Linked DNA regions of Homo sapiens: regions 1, 2, 3 and 5 are each linked to region 4. The links are contacts of gene promoters, found by promoter capture Hi-C in blood cells and fetal thymus (Javierre and others, 2016). All regions are on one chromosome and are shown on one strand. Each heading gives the region's core, a stretch centred on a gene start or on the middle of the fragment in contact. The rest is flanking DNA. Distances are from core to core; before and after follow the strand shown.

Region 1 (5,040 bases), core at 497-2,996, 290 kb before region 4:
GCTCAGGTCACAAGTTCCAATCTGCCCTTTGTGGGCTACGGTTCCTATGTCGTTTCTGTTTTCAAAGCCTTTAGTATAATTTGGGCTGCTTTGTGACTGAGACCTGGGCAATGGCTTATCTGTTAGTTCAATTCTCAAAATCTTTGGTGTGCTAATTAGGATCAAAAACATGCATGTGCACCTAGGAAATGAGCCCTGGACTTCATAAATAACTTTGTGGGGTCATCTTCTGAAGTTTTCTCTTTCCATGATTTCTCCAGTCCTTTCTGGTTTTCTTGGGCTCTCAGTCACCGATCAGAAAGCCAGCAGTTTAGGCTGGACGCCGTGGCTCACGCCTGTAATCCCAGCATTTTGGGAGACTGAGGCAGGTGGATCACTTGAGGTCAAGAGTTCAAGACCAGCCTGGCCAACATGGTGAAACCCCATCTCTACTAAAAATACAAAAAATTAGCCGGGCATGGTGGTGGGTGCCTGTAATCCAAGCTACTTGGGAGGCTGAGGCAGAAGAATTGCTTGAACCCGTAAGGCGGATGTTGCAGTGAGCCGAGATCATGCCACTGCACTCCAGCCTGGGTGACAGAGTGAGACTCCAAAAAAAAGAAAAAGAAGAAAGAAAAGAAAATGAAAGAAAGAAAGAAAGAAAGAAAGAAAGAAAGAAGGAAAGAAAGGAGAGAGAAAGCAAGCAAGCTGTTTAATTACCTAACTCAGCTGCATATTTCTGTGACTGTGCTTACATCTTGGGCAAACAGTAGAAAACAGAGAGGAAAAAAAGGCAATGGGGGTTTGCCTCACCCTCATGGAACCACAACTCCACCAGCCAAAGAAAGTCCTGCTTGCTCAGTGTTTTGGCTCTACAGACTCCTGTTGCTGCTGCTATTACCAAAACAGGATTACTTGAGTGCTAGAATTTGAGAGAACAGGGATGAGAAAAAAGCAGGGGGGAATTTCTTCATTCTCTGGTTAAGTTGCCTGCTCCTCAAACCAGAACTAGGATGCTTCTCCTGAAATTCTTTCTGCAGTCCCGTGCTCACTTTTGGGCTTGAGGCTATGTTGTGTTCAGGACAGAGAATACTGGAAGAAAAAAAATAGCAAATTCACTGCAGGTTCAATGGTGCTTCGAATTCTAGTCTTCATCCCCAATTCACCCATCACTACTTAGTTTTCAGAGTCCTTAAACAGCCATTCCATGCATCATGTCCAAGGTTTTAGACATGTTCAGTATGGGAGGAAGGGTAAAAAATGTTTACCCCATCTTACCCAGAACTAGCACCCCTGGCTGTTATCTAAGCACCAAGTGATATTGATATGCATTCAGGATGCAAATTACTGCCTTCCACTGCTCCCTTCATTTTCCTACCTATTCTTATAAATATTGTGCTGATCCTTGGAGGCCAGGCTCAAATATCCCTTCTGAGATGTCTTCTCTGAACTCCTCACCAGAGCCAATCTCTCCCTCTTCTGATCTTCCACAGCGTTGACTTGTGCCAACATTACAATATCTGTCCATCTTCTCCTCTAGACTTTTAGTGTCTTCTTAAAATAAAAGATACTGGCCAGGCATCGTGGCTCACGCCTGCAATCCCAGCACTTTGGGAGGCTGAGGCGGGCGGATCATGAAGTCAAGAAATCGAGCCCATCCTGGCCAACATGGTGAAACGCCATCTCTACTACACATACAAAAATTAGCTAGGCATGGTGGCACGCGCCTGTAATCCCAGCCACTCGGGAGGCTGAGGCAGGAGAATCACTTGAACCTAGGTGGCGGAGGTTGCAGCGAGCTGAGATCACACCACTGCACTCCAGCCTGGCAAGACTCCATCTCAAAAAAAAAAAGAAAAGAAAAAAGGTTGGGCACGGTGGCTCAAGCCTGTAATCCCAGTACTTTGGGAAGCCAAGGCGAGTGGATCACCTGCAGTCAGGAGTTCGAGACTAGCCTGACCAACATAGAGAAACCCCGTCTCTACTAAAAATACAAAATTAGCTGGGCATGGTGGTGCATGCCTGTAATCCCAGTTACTCAGGATGCTGAGGCAGGAGAATTGCTTGAACACGGGAGGCAGAGGTTGCGGTGAGCCGAGATCACGCCGTTGCGCTCCAGCCCACTCAACAAGAGCGAAACTCCATCTCAAATAAATAAAATAAAAAATACTTTGTTTTAATCTTTCTTGACTTGCTCTCAGTCCTAGGCCTGGTGCTCAGAACATAGTAAACAGCTACGAATTCAATAGAATTACTAAAGCACTGGCCAGTTTTTTTGTTTTTGTTTTTGTTTTTGTTTTTAATGATAAAGGAAATCAGGACTTCTGGTTATAACATGGTCTAGAGTAAAGATGCATTTCCCTCTTTTCTTCTTGGAAATTATCCAAAGGTAACTAGAGAATGTGAAGTATTTTTAATAAAAGAAAACCTGAAGGCCGGGCATGGTGGCTCACTCCTGTAATCCCAGCACTTTGGGAGGCCGAGGCAGGCACATCACTGAGGTCAGGAGTTCGAGACCAGCCTGGCCAACATGGTGAAACCCTGTCTCTACTAAAAATACAAAAAATTAGCTGAGCATGCTTGTAATCCCAGCTACTCGGGAGGCTGAGGTAGGAGAATTGATTGAACCCAGGAGGCGGAGGTTGCAGTGAGCCGAGATGGAGCCATTGCACTCCTGCCTGGGCAACAAGAGCGAAACTCCGTCTCAAAAAAGAAAAAAGAAAACCTGAAAATACTTGTATAAAATAGAGGGAAGAGACTCAGTAAACAGGCTTGCAGCTGCTAATCTGTTGATTATGGAAACTTAACATTGAAAGAACCCACTCGAATACAACATGGGGTTCTAAGGAAAACCTGCCTGAAACAGGGCACACTTCATCTTTCATATAGTTGGTATCAGAATACTTTATCTCATTCAAAGATGACTGGTAAGTAAAAAGAAGAAAGAAAAAGAAACCAATAGATGCTCTATTAAAGATACACTACAAAATAAGGAAAAAAAGAAATGGGAAAATAAATCACAGAAAACACTAAGGAGGGAAAAAAAATCCTATCCTCTTAACTCTTGGGTCAAAGAAGAAACTATAACTAAATTACAAAACACTTTAAAATAACAATAATGAAAATGTCACATAGGAGCAGAAGAAGATATTATTTATAAAAAATGAAAACAAGAATTAATAAATTATAAAATGGGGAAAAATTATAGAATTGATAAATAAACCTAAGACCTGGTTCTTTGAAAAACATCACCACCAAAAACATTTAGCTAACTTGATTTGTTTATTAAGTGAGCAACAAATATACAAAATTAGACATATCACTGGAGAAAAATCTTCACCCTTACAGAAGAAATTAAAGGTATCATAGAACTACTTTGCTCAAGACTATGCGTACAATTTTGGGAAACTGTATGAAATGGTTGACTTCCTGTGAAAAGATTAATTACCTAAATTAGCTTAATAACAAATGGGTCATTGAACAGATCAATTACCACTGAAGGAGTCAAAGTTTATTTTTTAAGTATGAACTCCAGACCTAGAGGTTTGACAGAGGACTTCATCAAACATTTATGGAACTCAATGGATCCTATGTAAAAGTGGTATATCAAGTAATAGACAGCCAGGTGCAGTAGCTCATGCCTGTAATTCCAGCACTTTGGGAGGCCGAGGCAGGTGGATCACTTGAGGCCAGGAGTTTGAGACCATCCTGGCCAACATGGTGAAACCCTGTCTCTACTGAAAATATAATAATTAGCTGGGTGTGGCAGTGGGCACCTGTAATCCTAGCTACTTGGGAGATGGAGGCAGGAGAATCGCTTGAACCTGGGAGGCGGAGGTTGCAGTGAGCCGAGATCCCGCCACTGCACTCCAGCCTGGCGACAGAGCAAGACTCCATCTCAAAAAAAAAAAAAAAGAAAAGAAAAGAAATACGGATGTAAATAATAGAAAAGCAGTTGAAAGAGTTCAATGAGCTTCTTCCCTGGCATAGGCAGGACTCTTGGGGAAGGAAGGATGGAAATGGGAGTTGGTCTTTATTTTCTTTTTCATGTGGGGACTGGTCTTTTTGACACAATATTTTTAGAATCATTCGATTTTTTTAAACTATGGATATGTATTACTTTGCTAAAAATAAAAAGTAATTAAATGTTTTAAAGGGTTCATGTGAAACAGGACAGGTGATTGGGTTATCTGTTGGGCTGGGAGCCTAGTAAAACGCTTGGGGAGGTCAGATCCCCACTGTTTGAGATTACGCTGACTCGTTCGGAGTGTGAATGACTGCCCAGATTCCTACAGACACCCATTTGCCTAGATATTGATGGCACTGGGCTTTGCAACCCTCCTGACAGCCCTAACGTGGTCTTCATTCTTCTGTCCTCCAGGTTCCCCACTTTGGCCAGGTTAACATGGTCTCTTTCTGCACTTGTTTCTCCTACCCCTGGGTGTCTGAATCATGGATCTTTCTGAAATACCATCCATGCCCAAAACATTTTCCCCATACAGTTATCCTGTAACAGTATTCATAAACCACTTTACCTAGGTGACTTCCATTTGTCTTCCTGTCTTATTGCACTTCTCAGCATCTTGAGGTTGCAAAAGTGAGTATCTCATCTGGGGCTGGATGCATTTCCGTTGTGAACAAAAATGGGATTTATCAGCAGATAAGAAAATGTAAATGGATGTTGTGTAGGCAAATAATATGGTCTGCAGTAGAGGGTAATGGAAGGAGCAGGAGAAATCCACCCTTTCTCCCAGAAGGACAATTCAAGGTTCACGTGCACTTAGATGTATGTGCTTGTGAAATAGTTAAATTATAAAGCAGTAAGGAGGCAGAAATTAAAATGTCTAAGCACAGCTGTGGCAGAGGAATAGATATTTGAGAGTGAGACATAAGAAGCAATTGTGGGGTAAAGGGTTTATTGTCATAGGATGAAAATCTCTCAGGAATTACTCAGCTGGGAAGTTGTTCTTTCTCTGCCAAAATTCAAACATTCTGAAAATCTCACTTCACAACCTCAGGGGGTATTCACATGAAGCTGGAACAAACCTATTTGCATCTATG
Region 2 (5,046 bases), core at 1,068-3,567, 370 kb after region 4:
CACTTGACTGCCTGAGCCACAACTGCGGGTCCTGGAAGCTCCTGGAGGGCTGGACCTGAGCCTGCTCTTTCCCCGGGCTCCCCTCTGGTTCCCAGGACAGGTGGTGCCCACAGTGGAAACTTACTTGAGTGGACAGATGGCCCCTCTCCTGCTTTTGCCCCCATGGGAAAGCAACACTTAGTTTTTGGTTTGTCTTGAAATAAGGCTATCTAGGGACACCACAAATATTCAGTTGTTTAAACGACATAGATTTTCTGGGAATATTTTAAAAGACTGAAGATAGGGACGGTGCAGTAGAACATGTGCTTTCTTCTTTTTTTCTTTTCTTTTTTTTTTTTTTTTTTTGAGACAGTGTCTCACTCTGTCACCCAGGCTGGAGTGCAGTGGCATGATCTCAGCTCACTGCAACTTCTGCCTCCCAGGTTCTAAGGGGTTCTCCTGCCTCAGCCTCCCAAGAAGCTGAGATTACGGGCATGCACCACCACGCCCAGCTAATTTTGTATTTTTAGTAGAGATGGGGTTTCACCATGTTGCCCAGGCTGGTCTCGAACTCCTGACCTTAGGTGATCCACCTGCCTTGGCCTCCCAAAGTGCTGGGATTATAGGCGTGAGCCACTGTGCCCGGCCCATGTGCTTTCTTAAAAGTAAAAAAAAAATCAAGGCAGAGATAGTTTGCCGAGTGGTACTGTCAGTGAATTCTTTGAGAAGGGCATCGAATCCCATTGTCCCTAAACAGTTAATTTGAATATTCATCTGACACTGTGCCATTACCTTCTCCTTACAAACCTCTAGCGGAAGTTGATGGTACTGAACAGTAGAAGGTAAGTACTCAGATTCTTACTTTGGGTTTTAACATAATACCACCGCCCTCCTTCCTTCCCTCCCTGTTCCCCACCTCCTTGTTATGAACTGGATATCTGTGCCCCGCATCCCCTAGAATTCATATGTTGAAAGCCCCAACCTCTAACGTGTTGGTATTTGGAAGAAGGACCTTCAGGAGGTTTAGAGGCAGTCATGAGGGTGGAGCCCCATGATGGAATTCATGTTTTTATAAAAGGAAGGAGGAGACCAGAGCTCTCTTTCTCTCCGCCATGTAAGGACACAGCAAGAAGGCTGCTGTCTGCAAGTCAGGAAGAGAGCTCTCTCTCTAGGAATTGAATTGCCAGCACCTTGCCTTGCTCTTGGACTTCCCAGACTCCAGGACTGTGAGAAATAAATACCTGTTGTGTATAAGCCGCTCAGTGTCTGATATTTTGTGATAGCAGTATGAATGGACTAAGACACTCCCTTTCTCCCTCCCTCCCTCCCTTTCTTCCTTATTTCTTCTTTCCTCCTTTTTTTCTCTCTGTCTTCCTCTGTCTCTCCTTCTCTCTCCCCCCAGTTGCAATCTCTTTTCTGACTTCATTTCTTGTGGGCAGAAAGAACTACAGGGTTTCCAGAGGCTTCTATTTGGGTCATGGCAAGCAGCTCAGGTTTCACAAGCACAGGACAGATGGTAAGCCAGCTTTCCTTCTGAGCAGAGGGCTCACCCGTCAGAAGGAGGCTGGTTTATTCGTTGGCCAAATTGTTTATAATATCATGCTTATTGTGGGTGTCTTTTCTTCATTCTAGACTTTGGTGGTTAAAAACATAAAACAAAACAAAACCCTTGGAGAACGCTTTGGTCTCTTTCTTTATTTTATTTTTTAGATTTGAAAATATCAACATCTACTTATTTATTTATTTTTAGAGACAGGGTCTCACTCTGTTGTCCAGGCTGGAGTGCAGTAGCATGATCGTAGCTCACTGTAACCTGGAACTTCCAGGCTCAATTTTCCCATCCCAGACTCAGGAGTAGCTGGGTCTATAGGAATGCACCACCACACCTGGCTAAGTTTTAAATTTTTCTGTTGAGATGGGGTCTTGCTGTGTTGCCCAGGCTGGTCTCAAACTTTTGGCCTCAAGCAACCGTCCCACTTCGGCCTCTCAAGGCACTGGGATTACAGGTATGAGCCACCATGCTGGGCTGGCTTTGGTCTGTTTCTGCCTAACAAATCTGCATTGCCTATGTGTGGCAAGGGAAAATGATGATCATTGGTGAGGTGTGTCTGGGAACATGAGGGTGGAAATGCAGACCAAGGGCATGGGCACAGATTTCTGGACAGATGGAGTTAAGCTGAGTGGGTGCCTATGAATGTGTTGCAGGCAGAATGGTGTGGTTGATGAAGGCAACCCAAGGATTTGGAAATGAAGACTCTTGTTTGAGACCCAGGTCTGCCACTTAATAGCTATGTGGCTTGGCAAGTGATTTAACCTCTCTTCCTCGGTTATTTCTTCTGTTAAATGGAGATATAACTATTTGACTACGTTGTTATGAAGATTAAACAAGTCTGCATATAGGAAAAGTATCAAGTAGTGATGGTCCCAAATGTGGAAACTTCACTCTGATGGTTCCTGCCCCTTCCAGCTAGATCCTCAACCTCTTTTCATATCTGTCTTTTCCTCTAAACAATACTTTTTTTTTTTTTTGAGACGGAGTCTTGCTCTGTCACCCAGGCTGGAGTGCAGTGGCACAATCTTGGCTCACTGCAAGCTCTGCCTCCTGGGTTCACGCCATTCTCCTGCCTCAGCCGCCCGAGTAGCTGGGACTACAGGCGCCCACCACCATGCCCGGCTAATTTTTTTGTATTTTTAGTAGAGACGGGGTTTCACTGTGTTAGCTAGGATGGTTTTTTTTTTTTTTTTGAGACGAAGGCTCACTCTGTCACCCAAGCTAGAATGCAGTGGTACGATCTTGGCTCACTGCAACCTCTGCCTCCCAGGTTCAAGCAATTCTTCTGCCTCAGCCCCCCAAGTAGGTAGGATTACAGAAGCCTGCCACTATGCCCAGCTAATTTTTGTATTTTTAGAAGAGACGGGGTTTCACCATGTTGGCCAGGCTGGTCTCGAACACCTGACCTCAAGTGATCTGCCCGCCTCGGCCTCCCAAAGTGCTGGGATTACAGGTGTGAGCCACTGCACCTGGCCTCTCCTGCACTTTGACTTTGACCCTTGTCCTGGCCCAGGCAGGCCTGAGTCTGTGGGTAAACCTCCAGCTAGACACAGATTTATTCAGGGAAATGGAAGGTGGAGAAAACAGCTGGTGGGAGATGGGGCATCAGTGAGTTTAGCTTAAAGGGGTTAAGGAGAGCAAAAACCACCAATGTCCCTGTCTCTTTGCCAGATAACTCTCAGTAAAGCAGTGAATTCTTGCTTGAGTCTCAAACTTTGTACTAATGAGAGGGGCCTGTTTTACCCAGAGTTATATAACCTCTGCTCTTTATCCTGGTATTATTCACTTCCAAGTCTGTCACTACCACCGGACTTTTGGCTGAAAACTGTCAAAGAAACCATCACGGATTAGGACCTATTGGGTGAAGGGTGTGAACGTTGTGTGTGGGGGTTGGCAGAGGAGAACGCGGGGCCTCCGGCTGGCTGTCGTTGCCATGACAACTGCAGGAACTCTTGCTCCACCCATTTGAAATGTCCTGACTCTTGGAATGAAAGGCAGTTAATTGAAGGGTTTCACCTAACATCTGCGCAATTGCAGTGATTATCTGAGCAAGTAGGTAGGGAATCAAAATGAGGTCTCAGAGGAACTTAGGCCTGAGACATCTTCTCAGAAGATGCATTATCTAGTGGATTTGAGTGAGAGGATAGAAAGACTGGGGGTGGGAGTGCCTTTGGAGAGTACAAAATGATAAAAGGGATCACTTCAGGTCAAGAGTTCGAGACCAGCCTGGCCAACATGACAAAACCCCGTCTCTACTAAAGATACACACGCACACAAATGAGCAGGGCATGGTGGTGCATGCTCGTCATCCCAGCTAGCCGGGAGGCAGAGGTTGCAGTGAGCTGAGATCGTGCCACTGCACTCCAGCCTGGGCAACAGAGAGCCAGACTCTGTCTCAAAAAAACAAAACAAAACAAAACAAAAAAACTAAGGGCAGGAGAGCAGAAATTGGATGTGAGAAATATCTTTACGAGGTAGAAGGAGCTTCTGAACTTGTTAATGGATTGGAAGTATGGGGTAAGGCGAGAGTGCCCAGATTTCTCATTAGGACAGCGGCATGCATCGTGGCCTCCGTGAAGTTCCCACCAAGATTGGGAACTGATCCGCATTCCCACAGGAGAGAAGCAGGCTCAGGGGGATGGAAGAGGATTTCCACTTTGCACAGGCTGAGGTCTCAGTGCAAAACCTGGGCACAAAGCACCCCTTTCAACTCTGCTTTTTCATGTTGAACTGAAGAGAGTCACCCTCCTAGTCCCCATCCTGGCTCATGAGAGGAATCAAACTGAAATGAAGGGGGAAAGGATTTTATTCATCAGAGTCTCATAATGTTGAAAAATCTCTAGTCCGATCACGAGGCCTATCCATCCAAATCCATAGCAGGGTTAAATTCATCCCTGTGAGCTGGCCTGCCCAGAGGTGCTGGAAAGAAACATTAACCATTGGCTGGGCACGGTGGCTCACGCCTGCAATCCCAATACTTTGGGAGGCCGAGGTGGGTGGATCATCTGAGGTCAGGGGTTCGAGACCAGCCTGACCAACATGGAGAAACCCCATCTCTACTAAAAATACAAAATTAGCCAGGTGTGGTGGCACATGCCTGTAATCCCAGCTACTGGGGAGGCTGAGGCAGGAGAATCGCTTGACCAAGGTGGAGCTTGCGGTGAGCCGAGATCGTGCCACTGCACTCCAGCCTGGGCAACAAGAGCAAAACTCTGTCTCAAAAAAAAAAAAAAAGAAAGAAAAAAAAGAAACATTAACCATCACGTGAAAACTAAATTCATTAAATTCATTAATTCATTGCAGATCAACACTTGTAATTCTTTTCTCTTCTCCTCTTGGTGCCCATATTAAAACCCCTGCTTGTTTTCTCTCTGTGTGGCATATTTGTGTCTACGACACCCTGGGTATAGCAGTTGCTATGACCGCTCATTGTTTTTCAGCTTCTGTTGCTCAGGAGGAGAGTTATTTAGTTCTTTGAGAGGTCCCCTGTGCTTTCTGGAGTGAATGTTATTTAT
Region 3 (5,201 bases), core at 1,567-4,066, 360 kb after region 4:
AATATAGATGGAAATTGTCGTTTCTTTTCTCAACGTATTTGTTAGGTTTGCTGAAACAAGGAGGCAAGGTTTTGGACTGTGAGCATCCGAGGGGTAAGGATATGAGCTTTATCTTTTCTTTCCAAATTGAACATGGGTAGCCTTCTGTGCGATCTGGGCCTGGCAGCGTGCCAAGTGCTCTTGAGTGACTCCTGCTGGTCGTGGATGGAGCCGTGGGGTCAGGGCACACAGGGACTGCCTCCCCCAGCCTTCAGCTGATACTTGACGATCTCTAAGTGTGCATTTCGGAGCGTTCCCTTCCCACCAGTCGGTGGAGACTACCTTTGCATTTCTTGTTCTGCCAAAAAGATTCACACTTGTTGAAACCTATGACTAATTTGTCATACCCAACATCCAGATTTGATGTGAATTCCCAAAATAACCTTCTGGCAAACTCACCTGAATTCTCAAAACTTTTTCTCTGTTCTCCACCATAATCTGCCTATGTATTCACAAGGCCGAACCATCACCACAAATTTCTGCAGGAAAAATAGCAATTCAATTACAGAAAGTGAATTAATAGTCCATTTTCGTAAAGTCGGGCTGCGTCCGGCACTGAGACGCTAAGAATCTATGACTTCAGCTTTTTCTCCTGAAGCACTCCTCCAAAATGCACCACTGGGCACAGTTCCACTGGGAAGCTAAATAAATCAGGAAAACACAGTGGCCTGTGAGATGCTGAGAATTTAGAATTCAAGATAGCTTCAACTTTGATTTGTCCTTTTTTCTAATGGATGTTCTCTTTAGTTTCTATGAATTTGTGAAACACATATTTGTGGTTTAACCCATCAGTTTTTTCTGTACAGCAGGAAAAGTAAGTTTTGTTTTTACTCAGAAGAAAACGAAAGCCTGGAGATGTTAAGCAATTTGCTTAAAGTCCCAAAGGACACGTCTCAAATATGCTTATCAATAAAACGTGTGGGTCAGTGGGTGAGTTAGAAGTCAGCAAATGCTGAACTTTCTTTCACTGCTTTCCATCTGCCGGAACCAGTGAATGGGCTGATGATGCCGTCTAGTGTTAAGAAAAAACAAATGGGCAGGGCGCAGTGGACCATGCCTGTAATCCCAGCACTTCGGGAGGTTGAAGCAGGAGGATTGCTTGAACCCAGGAGTTCAAGACCAGCCTGGGCAACATGGCAAGACTGTCTTTATAAAAAATAAAAAAGTAGGCTGGGTGCGATGGCTCACGCCTGTAATCCCAGCATACCGGGAGGCTGAGGCGGGCAGATCACCTGAGGTCAGGAGTTCGAGACCAGCCTGACCAACATGAAGAAATCCCATCTCTACTAAAAATACAAAATCAGCTGCACATGGTGGCGCATGCCTATAATCCCAGCTACTTAGGAGGCTGAGGCTGGAGAATTGCTTGAACCCAGGAGGCAGAGGTTGCAGTGAGCCGAGATTGCGCCATTTTACTCCAGCCTGGGCAATAAGAATGAAACTCTGTCTCAATAAATAAATAAATAAATAAATAAATAAATAAATAAATAAATAAATAAAAATTAGCCAGGTGTGATGGTGCATCCCTGTAATCCCAGTTGTTCCAGAGGCTGAGGCTGGAGGATTGCTTGAGCCCAGAAGGTCGAGGCTACAGTGAGCCATGTTTGCACCACTGTGCTCCAGCTTGGGCTACAGAGTGAGATCCTATCTTAAACAAACAAGAAAAGGCAACTTATTCTAAGACCCAGATCCGACATTCTCTCATGAGGTGGAATTAGCTCCTGGGATGTGCAAGTATGATTAGAGATGTTGATTTAAACTTCAGTTTTGCAATAGAAGAAATATTAACCATCTTTCTTAGTTCCAAAAGAAACTCTCATAAAATAGAAGAGTTGCAATTGGAATCCTCATGTAGAATATTCAGGTGTGTATGGGAAAGTGATGACGAAATTGCTCTTTTTCACAAGAGTCTTGATATGGAAAGCAGTGAAGTGGGAAAAAGAGTTAAGTCAGACGGAAACTGGGAGAAACCCTTGAAACAAGTGGTTTGATCTGCTTGGTGGCCTGTAACTTCTGCCACCTGAAAAGATCTGCATCATTTCTGCATTTCTTTTCTTTTCCTTTTTCTTTCTTTTTTTTTTTTTTTTTTTTGAGATGGAGTTTCGCTCTTGTTGCACTCCAGGCTGGAGTGCAATGGTGCAATCTCAGCTCACACAACCTCCGCCTCCTGGGTTCAAGTGATTCTCCTGCCTCAGCCTCTCAAGTAGCTGGGATTACCGGTGCTCGCCACCACGCCCAGCTAATTTTTTGTATTTTTAGTAGAGATGGGGTTTCGCCATGTTGGGCAGGCTGGTCTCGAACTCCTGACCTCAGGTGATCTGCCCGCCTTGGCCTCCCAAAGTGCTGGGATTACAGGCATGAGCCACTGCACTCAGCCAGGTTCTGCATTTTACTTTACTCTTTTCATTTGAACTTTGTTGTATGGACACAGCACACAGTGTGCTCAGTCAGCACCTGCCACACTCACAGCAAGCTTTAGCATGAGCTAGAATGACTCAGAGAAGCCTCCCTGGTGAACCCCACCTGGCTCTGGCCAATCCAACTTCACGTTCCCACAAAAGGCATTGTACTTGCACAGGGCCTGAGCTTGGTCCACCAATGGAACTATCTTGTAGGAAAGATTGCTGGGCTTTGGGTATTTGTTAACTAACGTCTTTGCATTGGTTTCTGGACCAACTGAGGGCAATCTGGCTCCCTAGAGGACACCTGGCAATGTCTGGAGACTTTTTTGGTGTTACAATTAGGGGTGCTATTGGCACCTACTGGTGTATCTAGTGAGTAGGGGTCATGGATGCTGCTAAACATCTTACCTTGCAAAGAACAGCCTCCCTCAACAATAATAATCTGGCCCAAAATGTCAATAGTGCCATGTTTGAGAAACTCTGTTCTGGACCAATTCAATTTTCTTTTTTTAAAATTTGTAGAGACAAGGTCTTGCTATGTTTCCCAGGCTGGTCTTGAACTCCTGGCCACAGACAATCCTCCCTCCTTGGCCTCCCACAGTGCTGGGATCACAGACATGAACTACTGCATCTGGCCCAATTCTTTTCTAAAGCAAGTGAAGTATAGTAGGATTATAGTGAAGCTTGTACCACACTGCTTTTAGCCTTATAAAAGAGGATCTGCCAAACTCTATTATGATAATACTGCTATATAACCACCAACCACAGAACCTAGGCAACATACAACAATAAACTTTTGCTCATGAGTCCAGAGTCAGTTGGGCAGTTCTGCTAAACTGGGCCAGGCTTGGCTAACTCTGATGGAGCTCACTTAGGTCTCTGCAGTCATATGGTGGTTTGGCCTGGGAGCTGGCTGCTGTAATATGACTTCACTCAGCGGTGGGTGGGCTGTTGGCTGACATGGCAAGGGTAACTGGATCACATGGTCTGTCATCACCCAACAGGCTCACCCAGGTTTTTCACATGTCTGTGGCAAAGTTCAAGAGAAAGAAAGTAGAAACATGAGAGGCCTCTGGAGGCCTGGGCTTGGAACTGGCATGTTATCACTTCCACTGTACTCTACTGGTCAAAGGAAGTTGCAAGATTCAAGGCCTGGAGGAACTGACTGTATCTTTTCATGAGAAGAGCTGCAAAGTCAATTGCAATGGGCAAGGATACGGGAAGGAGTGAAGAATTGTGGAAATGTTTGCAGAAAATCTACCACACCCTTCTTCTCCAATCCTAACTTACATTTATGCTTCAAAATTCACTAGACCACTACTCCTCCAGGAAGCTTGGTCTAACCTCCTCTGTCCTCCTACTGACTGCCAGGCTGACGTCTCTCATAGCACTCCTCACATTGTGCCACAATCATGGGCACAACCATTGGCCTGCCCCCACTCGACTCCAAGCCATCCTGAGGGCAGGATGCATGAATGAGTGAATATATGTCCTTAATGTTTTGTAAATCTGGCTGTAGAGCATAAGGAGCTTGGGTTCTAGAGTGAGAATGCCTCCATTCAGATCCAACTTTTGCCTCTTACTAGGTCAAGCCAAGCAAGTGAATAAATGATTTCTCTCTTCCTCTGTACAATGGGGAGAATAATAGTCCATACTCCAGAGGCGCAGGGGAGTGATTGGCACATAGGAATCCTCAGTCATGGTAGCGTCTGTTATTATGAACGCCTCTTTCTCCATTTCAATTTGGCACCTGGTTTGTAGAGACCTGTGACTTCATTCACTAATTCATGCATTTAACAAGTATCTGTAGAGCCCTCACTCGCTAGACACAGCACTCCTTGCTTCTCCTCACACAGTAAGAGAACCGCACATGTCACCCGGCAATTGACTCCTCAGCGTTTGAATTCATTTTCATCTATGGCTGGTTTTGCCTTCCATTCAGTCATTAGAAGAGATGAATGTTTCCTTCTGTAGAGGTGACACAGCCAGGGAGTCACCATGCTCCCAGGGAGAGGAGTCCTATGCATCCTTTCCTTCCAGGCCTGACTCATCAGGGAGACGTTGCCTGGGCTGTTGAATTCCTATAGATCACGGAGACAATGAGGAGAACTGTGTAGGAAGGAGATTTTAGCAAGCTCAAGAGCTGAATTCGGTGTGTTGCTGTAACATTTTGGGAACTTTTAAAATAAGACACATGTACGATTTCAGACAGATTTTTAAATGGCAGCATAAAATAGCTGCTTCTGCCGCAGACTGGTTTTTGTGGGTTTTATAACCAGAAAAAATTAGAAGATGGCTCATGAATAATACACTGACTCAATTCTGGGAGTCGCAGTGCCCCTCACAGTGTGACTGTGTCTACCGCTTTTAATATCCTGCAAATTGACCGGGTGTCTCTCACTTAGCAGGTCTCAGCAGAAATGGAATCTGGCAGGAGGATGGCATCACCAGCTTCTTCCAGGTTCCAAGTTGCCAAGTCAGATGACTCTTGCTTGGCCTTGAAATTGTTCTCTTTCTTAGAGGTTTCAGGTTAGAATTGAATACTTCTGAAACATTTGCAGGAGATTCTAGGTGTCTGGTGTAAGCTGGATTGCACAAGTAGAAATTTGGAAAAATTCAGCCTAAAGTGGATTTGCATTTTGATGGCCCATCTTAGGGAATTTACTGTAGTGTTATTGCTGCCAAATACCTGTGTCCATACTAATATTTTTTAGTCTCTAAAATACTTTTGTATTACACAATCAGAAGAGTATAATTTAG
Region 4 (4,706 bases), core at 682-3,181:
CTTTTATTTCTTCTACAGACATTGAGGTCCTACTGTGTACTCATAAGACAAGGTCCCTGCTGCCAAAAAAGTAAAAAAAAAAAAAAAAAAAAAAAAACTAACTCAAATAAAAAACAGAATAAAAAGTGCTAAAGCTGGGTAGTAAAGACATTTTCCAATTTCCTGTGTTTCCTATCATTAATGAGGCAACTGGTATTGAAGCATTCTTTTTTTATTTTATTTTATTTTTTTGAGATGGAGTCTCGCTCTGTCACCCAGGCTGGATTGCAGTGGCACATCTCAGCTCACTGCAACCTCTGCCTCCCCGGTTCAAGCAGTTCTCCTGCCTCAGCCTCCCATGTAGCTGGGACTACAGGCGTGCACCACCACGCCCAGCTGATTTTTGTATTTTTAGTAGAGACGGGGTTTTGCCATGTTGGCCAGGCTGGTCTTGAACTCCTGACCTCAGGTGATCCACTCGCCTAGGCCTCCGAAAGTGCTGGGATTACAGGCATGAGCCACTGTGCCTGGCCGAAGAATTCTCTTTTTTTTTTTTTTTTTTTTTTGACAAGGTCTCACTCTCACCCAGGCTGGAGTGCAGTGGCACAATATTGGCTGACTTCAGCCTCAACCTCCTGGGCTCAGGTGATCCTCCCACCTCAGCCTTCCAAGTAGCTCGGACTATAGGCACGCGCCACTACGCTCAACTAATTGTTAAAAATTTTCGTAGAGACAAGGTTTTGCCATTTTCCCCAGGCTGGTCTTGAACTCTTGGGCTCAAGCAATCCTCCAGCTCGGTTTCCCAAAATGCTGGGATTACAGGGTGAGCCACTGCACCTGGCCTCAAACCAATCTTTGAAGGTAGTTATTCAAATCTACTTGTTGTTTTAATGTGAAGATAATTCCTAATGCTTCCTTTCTTTATTCTTTTTTGAAACCTTTTTTGATAGTGAAATATTCTACCCATACATAAATGTACAGCTTAATGAATTTTTACAAGATGAACATCTATATAACCATCATTAAGGTCAGGAAATACAGTCTCAAAAACATTCTTCTCCCTACCTGCCAGAACCGACCACAATCCTAACTTGATGGGAATCACTAAGTGGGTAGTGTTTCCCATAAAATTGCTTTTTTGCTTTTTTTCATAGTTTCCTCCACTAAGTATGGAGCCACAATCACTGTAGAGTGTAATTTAGCCTGTTTTTTATATACAAAAATCATACAGTATGTACTTTTTCTGGGTTTTTGTTGTTGTTCAAAATTGTGTTTTTAGTATGCCTCCATATTGTTACACATAGTTGTATTTCATTCATTTACAGTGCTATGTAGTATGCCAGTATAGGCAATAGCATAATCTAATTAACCATTCTTTTGATGGATAGTTCAGTTATTTCCAGTTTGCATGCACAGGAGCACGCACTTCTTAGGGTAAATACCTAAAAGTGAAATTGCTGGATCCCAAGGCATACATATCCTGGCTAATGTCAAACCATTTTCCAAAATGGTTGGTTGCATCGGTTCTCACGTCCGCCCGCAGAAGGTGACGGTTCTTTGCACTACGTCCTCCCTAGCACCTGACGCTGCCAGACGTTTCAACTTTGGACTTTTCGACTCAACTTATGGTGAGTGTGGTATTATCCGCTGTGGTTTTAATTGGCCTTCTTCTGATTATTAATGAATTAAAGCATCATTTCAATAAACAGATATTTATTGGCCATTTAGATTTCTCGTGTGTTTGTGAAATACCTTTCCATTTACCCATTATTTAATTGGGTTCCTTTTCTTCTTGATTTGTAGCAGTTCCTCGCGTATTTTAGTAGTTTTATTTGTGGCAAAGATCTCCTCCCCCGGGTGGCCTCTGCCCTCCGGCGCTGGGAAGTCCGGGCGGCGAGGCAGCCTCTCCCGGGGCGTTCGGGCTCCTCCGGCTCTGCCCCGATGTCGTTATTACGGCCGTTTGCAGCCTCCGTGCCAGGGCCGGGGGTGCGGTTCGGGACGCGGGATCCTAGGTCGGGTCCTGCCCCGCCCATGTGGCGCCGGCGTCTGTGTTGTCTGCGGTCTCCAGGGCAGCGCCGGGGCGGGCGGGGGCCCGGGCGGCGGCGGCGGCGGCGCGGGAGGATGCGGGGCCCGTCCGGGTCGCGGCCGCGGAGGAGCGCCGGGCAGGTGACGGGCGGTGGCCTCCCGGATCTGGGGTGGGCGGCGCGCCCGGGGAGGGAAACGGGAAGGGCTTACTGGGGATGGGGACGGCAGGAAACCACCCAAGCAAGCTGGGGAGGAGCCGGCGCGGGAGCCTTCGGGACGGAGTGGGGAGCGACAAGGGGGCGAGGCCGCGACAAGGGGCTGGGGGGCCGCCATGCGAGGCTTCGGCGCCCGGGCACCCAGAGCAGCCCTGTTCCCGGTCAATTAGGACCGGTCCCGGGCACCAGGCCCGCCGACTTGTCACTTCCTGGACCTCCAAACGCCCCTTGTGACAGGCCTTGTTCCTCAGGAACAAGCAAAGGTAGAAAACCGAACGCCTCCCCTGGGCAGCTTCCGGCCTGTTTCAAACCAGGGTTCGTTCCTTTTTCTTTACGATTCATCTTGGTGAGCCCAAGCAGGGTTCCTTTTCCCCTCCAGGAGAAAGTTCGATTGTCCCATGCTAGTGGACTAGACCCACTGCAGGGATCCCTGGGGAGCTGGCCGCTTCTTAGTCCCTAGGTGCCATCGGATCTATCGCTGTCTTGTTTATTCAGGAGACTAGTCACCTCTCTTGGTCAGAAATTTCAGCGGCACAACCTTTTTTTTTTTTCACTGGACGGGAGGAGGGAGCCACATTCATGAAATTTAAACGCCCACTTTCTAACTTATTCAAGCTGTCAGCTGTTCCTTCTTCCACCCCATGTTTTGGTAAGATCAGGCCTCCACAGAAAACCCAGCTTTTGTGGCGTTTGGCTTTGCTCTTTGCATACTTTAGCAAACTTCAGGAATCTGCTAACATCAGCAAAATTATCTTCTGTGGTTACTGTTTTATTTTTTATTCATTCCAAGAAAGCTTAGCCTATTTCATTTAAGAAGAGAAGTTCAAGGGACTGAATTATTTTAAGAGTAATTCTAAGTTGCACTATAACGCTTAAGCTTGCTCTTCAGGATCTCAAATTCAGTGACCTTAGCTCCTCCAGTAAAACCGGTGTTAAACAATCTCTTTTACTTAAAATGTGTTAGTATTTGATAGATTTGCTGCTTTCTTGGCACATCCTAAAAAAGCAACAATTAAAATAATAAGGCAGAATGCAATATGTATTTTAAAAATAAGAGACAAAATAATACAACAAACCAGTCTGTAATATTAGAGAATAATATGTTAGTCTACCAACAGGGCAGACTTCGAGTTCAATAGAAAACTCACTTCGTGTGTATTTACATATGAACGTTCCCTTTTGCCTGTTGTTTGTTAAGGTGCTTTCCTCCAAGGATTTGATGATGCTCCTTGCAAACATTAGCAACAAGGTCAACATTATAAGCAATCCTAGGAATAGTAATAAGGTTGTGTCATTTAATTAAAGTTAGGATTTGCCAAAAGAACAAGAGCAAGCCATTAAGACAAATTTTACAGCAATTTCTAATGGTAAAGGTTTCTGTTACCTGACTCACAGAAAAAAAAAAAATGGGTATAAAGGCAGTGAGATAGAAAATAGACCAAAATAGAAATGCTAGGTAGAGATGAAAGGAAGCACAATCCAAAAACATCATGTCCGTTCGGTCCTACATGAACTCAAAGCACCCTTTCCATGGCTCTTTATAATGACCCTTACAGACAGTGCAGGTTCACTTGAATCACACTCGTAAGTGAGTTGGAAGGGACTCCAGCTAACTCTTAGCTGTAATTCAGGCCAATCTCCCACCCACTCAACTTTCCCCAGGATAGCATCCCGTTCGGTAATGTAGACCTCCAGGCTCTGCTTTGGATCGCTCAGTGGCAGAATTCACAAGACCACTAAATCTTTTGTTGAACAGTTTTATTTATTTTTTCTGATAGGGTCACGTTCTGTTACCCAGGCTGGAGTGCAGTGGCACTCCAGCTCACTGCAGCCTCTGCCTGCCCGGCTCGAGTGACCCTCCTCCCACCGCAGTCTCCCGAGTAGCTGGGACTACAGGCCCATCCCACCATGCCCACTAATTTTTTGTATTTTTTTTTTTTTTTTGTAGAGATGGGGTTTTGCCATGTTGCCCGGGGTGGTCTTGAACTCCTGGACTTAAGCGATCTGCCCACCTTGGCCTCCCAAAGTGCTGGTATTACAGGCGTGATTGTTGAACAGTTTTAATCGTTATTATGGGTTTTAAAAAATACCGGATGAGGTTGATCTCCATTTATGTCCACCTAAATTATATGTTCCTATCTAGTCACAACCTGGCTATCAGAAAGTCTTTTCCAAATGATGTTGCCAGCCCATATAGGTCTAGGAACAAAACAGCTTCCCCATTTACAGTTCCAACTATGGAAAACTACACTCTTCTTTCTTCTTACTTTACTTTCCAAAACATAGCCCCTGAACCTGTTTTACTCTATCCATGAATAACTACGGACCATATTTATATTGCCCATAGTTATTTGGGCATTTGAAATAAGGCTATCAAAGTACTGTCCATAATTAACCATTTGTCTTAGTCCAGGCTTGTCTGTAACAAGCCCTTGGAAGCTAGAAATAGGAATCCACTTCCAAGCAGCCATTTATTTCATCAATAAA
Region 5 (5,232 bases), core at 1,257-3,756, 280 kb before region 4:
AAGATGAATAATTGCTCAAAGGCACACAGCTAGTATGTTGCAGAGCTAGCATTCTCTGCTGCTAAATCGTCTGTGTACCATCTTCTATATCTTTGTTCTTCTTATGAGAGGCAACAAGCCGGTTAGATGCATACTGGTCAACCTCATCTGGAGTGTTGTCCTCCAGATCAATCCTCTCAACTGATGAAAGCCTAGAAACCACGTGAGAACTGGCTAAATCCGAGATCGTCAAACTACCGCCCAAATCCAAGCCTACCCTGTTGTTGTAAATAAAGTTTTATTGCAATACACCTATATATTTAAATGCTGTCTGTGGTTCCTTTCATGCAACAATTGCAGAATTGAGTGGTTGCAGCAGAGACTGTAAGGCCCACAAAGCCTCAAGTACTTTATACTATCTGGACATTTACAGAAAAAGACTGCCCACCACTTGGCTACGTAAATCATTGCCCTTGAGCATAACTGCAGAGACTCTGTTCTGAATCACCACTCAGCGCTGCCAAAGAAATTGGAAGTGTTTGGCCTGAAACAATGAAAACTCAAGGCACATACTTGACATCATGTAGAAGTGGATTTGTTTGCAGGCCAATAGGTGGAAATTTCCAAGATGTGGTTTTTGGCTCAACCTAAAGAATTATCTGTTCCTAATGTTTATAAATTAACTTATAGGGCAATGAGTTCTTCATTGCTGTAAGTATTTAAATAGTCACATGAGCATCCATCAGAAATGTCATAGAGGTTGTCCTTCATGACCTCTATGATCCTTTACAACTCCTGTGATCTTCTGACTTTGTGAGTTTCGATATGGCTAATGAGCCATGGGAACTTTTTTTCCTGAGTCTCTGTGCCCTAGTCTACTAGATTAGCTCCCGGCTACTCGGGAGCCTGAGGCAGGAGAACCGCTTGAACCTGGGAGGTGGAGACTGCAGTGAGCCAAGATTGCGCCACTGCACTCCAGCCTGGGCAACAGAGTGAGACTCTGTCTCAAAAAATAAAAAATAAATAAATAAGAAGAATTATGGTAGGGCTTGAACTTTGGTAAAGAATAAGTATAGTTAAACAACGACCTATCGTGTCTCAAAAAATAAAAAATAAATAAATAAGAATTATGGTAGGGGCTTGAACTTTGGTAAAGAATAGGCTTAGTTAAACAATGACCTATCATTTCGTAGCTTGCTTTTCCGTACGTTGTTTGCTGCTCTGGAGTCACATAACTGGCGGGGGGTGGTCACAAAATTTATAATTTCCCCAACTACTCCTATAGATAACATCACTATTGTGAAATAAAGAACTGGTCTTTGAGATATTTTTCAGATTTAACATTTCAACAGACCAAGAGATGCTACTGATCCTGAGACCCCATCCCAGGAACTGAGTCAACTACACAAAGACAGTGTAGACACCCTTGTGATTTCATCTCCAGACAATCAATTGTTTCAGTTCCTGAGCTCCCTGCTTATCAAAGTACCCTGAAAAACTCTAGCCTCCAAAATCTCGGAGAGGCAGATTTGGGAAATACCTCCTATCCTTTGGCTTGGCTGGCCCTGCAGTTATGAAACTCTTTCTTTGCCACAATATCTGCTGTTCTCAGTGCATTGATTTTTGTGGGCAGTGGGCAAAAAAGAACCCATCAGGTGTAACAGTGCTGGAATTATAGGCATGAGCCACTGTGCCCAGCCTGTATGAAACATTTTAACTATGTACAAGTTAACATATAGCCAAGCACTAATGAAAATGAAACAAGGTATAAGTGGCTTAAAAGAAGTTAAAAGACAATAGAAAATATTTAAAATTTTATCAAAGCTTCCCATTTAAAAAGCAGTAGATGAGTGGGAATGTAAATTAGGATAGCCATTAAACTATATGCAGATTCCTCAAAAAACACAGAGTTACCAAATGATCCAGCAATCCCACTTCTGGGTATTTACCCAAAAGATTTGAAATCAGTTTGCCTGCACTCCCATAGTCATTGCATTGCTGGGCGTGATGGCTCACACCTGTAATTCTAACACTTCAGGAGGCCCAGGTAGGTGGATTGCTTGAGCCTAGGAGTTTGAGACCAGCCTGGGGAACATAGAAAAACCCTCTCTCTACAAAAAAACACAAAAATGAGCCTGGCATAGTGGCATATGCCTGTAGTCCCAGCTACTCGGGAGGCTGAGGTGGAAGGATGGCTTGAGGCCAAGAGGTGGAGGTTGCAGTGAGGCAAGATTGCGCCACTGCACTCCAGCCTGGGTGACAGAGACTCTAGAGACTCTAGCTAAAAAAAAAAACCACACACACACACACACACACACACACAAAGAGAAACAAAAACAAAACATGTTCATTGCAGCACTATTCCCAATAGCCAAGTTATGGGATCAAACTTAGTGTCCCATCAATAGATAAATGGATAAAGAAAATGTGGACATATACACAATGGAATACTATTTGGACTTTAAAAGAAGGGAATCCTGTTATTTGAGACAACATGGATAGAATTAGAGCACCTTATGCTATGTGAAGTGAGCCAGGCACAGAAAAATAATACCACGTGTTCTCACTTATATATGGAACCTAAAACAATCAAACTCAAAGAAGCAGAGAGTAGAATGGTGGTTATAGAGGCTGGGGTACGTGAGGAATGGGGAGTTGATGGTCAAAGGGTACAAAATCTCAGGAAGAATAAGGGTTTTTTTTTTAGATCCATTGCATAGCATGATGAATACAGTTAATAATAGTGTATTGCACACTTCAAAATTGCCGAAAGAGTAAATTTCAAATATTCTCACCACAAAAAAATGGTAAGAATTTGAGGTGATGGATATGTTAGCTTGATTGAATGATCCCACATTGTATTTACAAATCATAACATCACCCTGTACCTCAAAAATACATATACCTCTGCCAGGCATGGTGGCTCATGCCTGTAATCCCAACACTTTGGGAGGCCAAGGTGGGGAGATCACCTGAGGTCAGGAGTTCAAGACCAGACTTGTCAACATGGCGAAACTCTGTCTCTACTAAAAATACAAAAATTAGCCAAGCGTGGTGGTGCACACCCATAGTCCCAGCTACTGGGGGAGGCTGAGGCAGGAGAATTGCTTGAACCCGGGAGGCAGAGGTTACAGTGAGCTGAGATCATGCCATTGCACTCTAGCCTAGGCAACAGAGCAAGACTCTGTCTCAAAAACAAAACAAAACAAAAAAATATGTATATACACCTCATAAGCTTACAATTTTTAAAAATTCAAATAAATAAATTAATGAAAAGCACTAGAAGCAAACAACTACAAATGTTTGAAAAACAGAAACTTCCAATATCAGTAAACTATTCCAGAACATTAAAAAAGAAAGTTTCCAAATTCTTTCCATAGATTCATTATTTATTGATACCACATTTAATAAATATATCACAATAACATCACACTTTATGGAATAATTTATGAATATGAGTGCAGAATAATAAATAAAAAGTATTAATAAATATAATTCAGAAACTTATTAAAAAATAATATACCAGAACAAAATAGATTTGAACCTGGAAAGAACAGCTAAATATTAAGGAATCTATTTACATAATTTACTAACTTAGCCTATTAATTGATCAAAGTAAAAACATAAATAAAATTGTATATCCAGAGATGCTATAAAATCATTTGATAAAATTAAACATCAGCTGGGCATGGTGGCTCATGCCTGTAATCCCAGCACTTGGGAGGCCAAGACAGGCAGATCACTTGAGGTCAAGAGTTTGAGACCAGCCTGGCCAACATGGTGAAACCCCATCTCTACTAAATACAAAAATTAGCTGGGTATGGTGGCACACACCTGTAATTCCAGCTACTCAGGAGGCTGAGGCACCAGACTCGCCTGAACCGGGAAGGCGGAGTTTGCAGTAAGCCTAGACGGTGCCACTGCACTCTAGCCTGGATGATGGAGTGAGACTCTGTCTAAAAAAAAAAAAAAAAAAATTAAACCTTCCTCCTTGATTTTTAAATAATTCTCCCTTAATACAAGCACATACAGCCGTGCCTATCTATACATATTTTTGTAGCTATATAAATTCTTAAGCCAAAGCCTAGTGTCAGGATAAATGGTGAAGTGTGATAAACAATTCAATTAAAGTCAGAAACTAGACAAGTTTTTTAATTATCGTTACTTCTATTTAGCATATATCTGGAAGTACTGGTCAAGACAGAAAAAAGAAAGAGATATACTGGAAAGAAAGAAGCCAAGTTATTTATTGCAGCTAATATGATTATGTACAGACAACTAACTATAAAACTATTGGAAGTAATAAGAGAATTTAGTAAGGTGACTATGTAACAAAAAATAGACTTTTAATAATAATAAATGTCAGGCCAGGCGCAGTGGCTCACGCCTGTAATCCCAGCACTTTGGGAGGCCGAGGTGGGCAGATCACCTGAGGTCAGGAGTTTGAGACCAGCCTGACCAATATGATGAAATCCTGTCTCTACTAAAAATACGAAAATTAGCCGGGCGTGGTGGCATGCACCTGTAATCTCAGCTACTCGGGAGGCTGAGACAGGAGAATCGCTTGAACCTGGGAGGCGAAGGTTGCAGTAAGCTGAGATCGCACCATTGCACTCCAGCCTGGGCAACCAAAGCAAAACTCCATCTCAAGTTTAAAAATAGACTTTTAAAATAATAAGAATAGTTCCATTATATGGAAACAACAACAACATATTTTTTCCTACTAAACAACATATTTTCTTCCTACTAAGTAAAAATCATCTTTCCCTACTTGCAAGCTAAAAATTTAGTCTGCCACAGTTTCATGGATGTTGGCAGAGACATAAGACTCCTTCATCAGAAACAAAGGATTTTGTTACAGTAATAACAGTAGTCAGACTATTAGCATTTTCTTGTGACAATTTCCTAAGCTCTAGTTTCTGCAAGGCAGGGCAAAAGAGGGCCAGGTGACACCTGCACCTGCAGTGGTCTGCACTACAGGACGAGAGGCCTGAGTTCAGGGAATCTGAATATTTTATACTAGACCTTAAACATGCCTGCCCTCTGCCACTAAGAGAGATGCTAACTCTATCTTTTAAGTCTGTTTGCTACACTACGTCCTTGAAAAGATAGTCTAGAACAAAGGCAGAAAAACACAAGACATGCAGAAACAGGAGGGCCCCCTGGAGAATTATCTCCCAACACTGCTTAGAGAAAACTTTAAATGCTACATGGGGCCAGGTGCAGTGGTTCACGCCTATAATCCCAGCACTT

The links. Contacts are between HindIII fragments. The CHiCAGO score rates a contact against its expected background, and 5 or more counts as called.
Region 1: a fragment that was not itself captured here is called in contact with the fragment with the promoter of JHY in region 4 in 11 of 17 cell types (naive CD8 T cells, megakaryocytes, activated CD4 T cells and 8 more); the score reaches 10.2 in naive CD8 T cells.
Region 2: a fragment that was not itself captured here is called in contact with the fragment with the promoter of JHY in region 4 in 2 of 17 cell types (naive CD4 T cells and total CD4 T cells); the score reaches 5.4 in naive CD4 T cells.
Region 3: a fragment that was not itself captured here is called in contact with the fragment with the promoter of JHY in region 4 in 4 of 17 cell types (naive CD8 T cells, naive CD4 T cells, total CD8 T cells and 1 more); the score reaches 6.7 in naive CD8 T cells.
Region 5: a fragment that was not itself captured here is called in contact with the fragment with the promoter of JHY in region 4 in 3 of 17 cell types (naive CD8 T cells, non-activated CD4 T cells and total CD8 T cells); the score reaches 6.2 in naive CD8 T cells.

What each region holds. Positions count from the first base shown.
Region 1 is chr11:122,588,631-122,593,670 of GRCh38, forward strand. No RefSeq gene overlaps it. Among named protein-coding and RNA genes, the nearest start is that of TRK-TTT2-1, 31 kb to the left of the region's middle. The HindIII fragment of the contact is 8,114 bases long and covers 1-5,040 here.
Region 2 is chr11:123,252,626-123,257,671 of GRCh38, forward strand. No RefSeq gene overlaps it. Among named protein-coding and RNA genes, the nearest start is that of LINC02727, 60 kb to the right of the region's middle. The HindIII fragment of the contact is 5,741 bases long and covers 1-5,046 here.
Region 3 is chr11:123,235,102-123,240,302 of GRCh38, forward strand. No RefSeq gene overlaps it. Among named protein-coding and RNA genes, the nearest start is that of CLMP, 42 kb to the left of the region's middle. The HindIII fragment of the contact is 612 bases long and covers 2,511-3,122 here.
Region 4 is chr11:122,880,828-122,885,533 of GRCh38, forward strand. JHY (junctional cadherin complex regulator) reads left to right here and starts at 1,932. Exons shown (of 9, transcript NM_024806.4): 1 at 1,932-2,145. RefSeq lists a silencer at 2,051-2,410. The HindIII fragment of the contact is 12,251 bases long and covers 1-3,011 here.
Region 5 is chr11:122,605,163-122,610,394 of GRCh38, forward strand. No RefSeq gene overlaps it. Among named protein-coding and RNA genes, the nearest start is that of TRK-TTT2-1, 48 kb to the left of the region's middle. The HindIII fragment of the contact is 1,411 bases long and covers 1,802-3,212 here.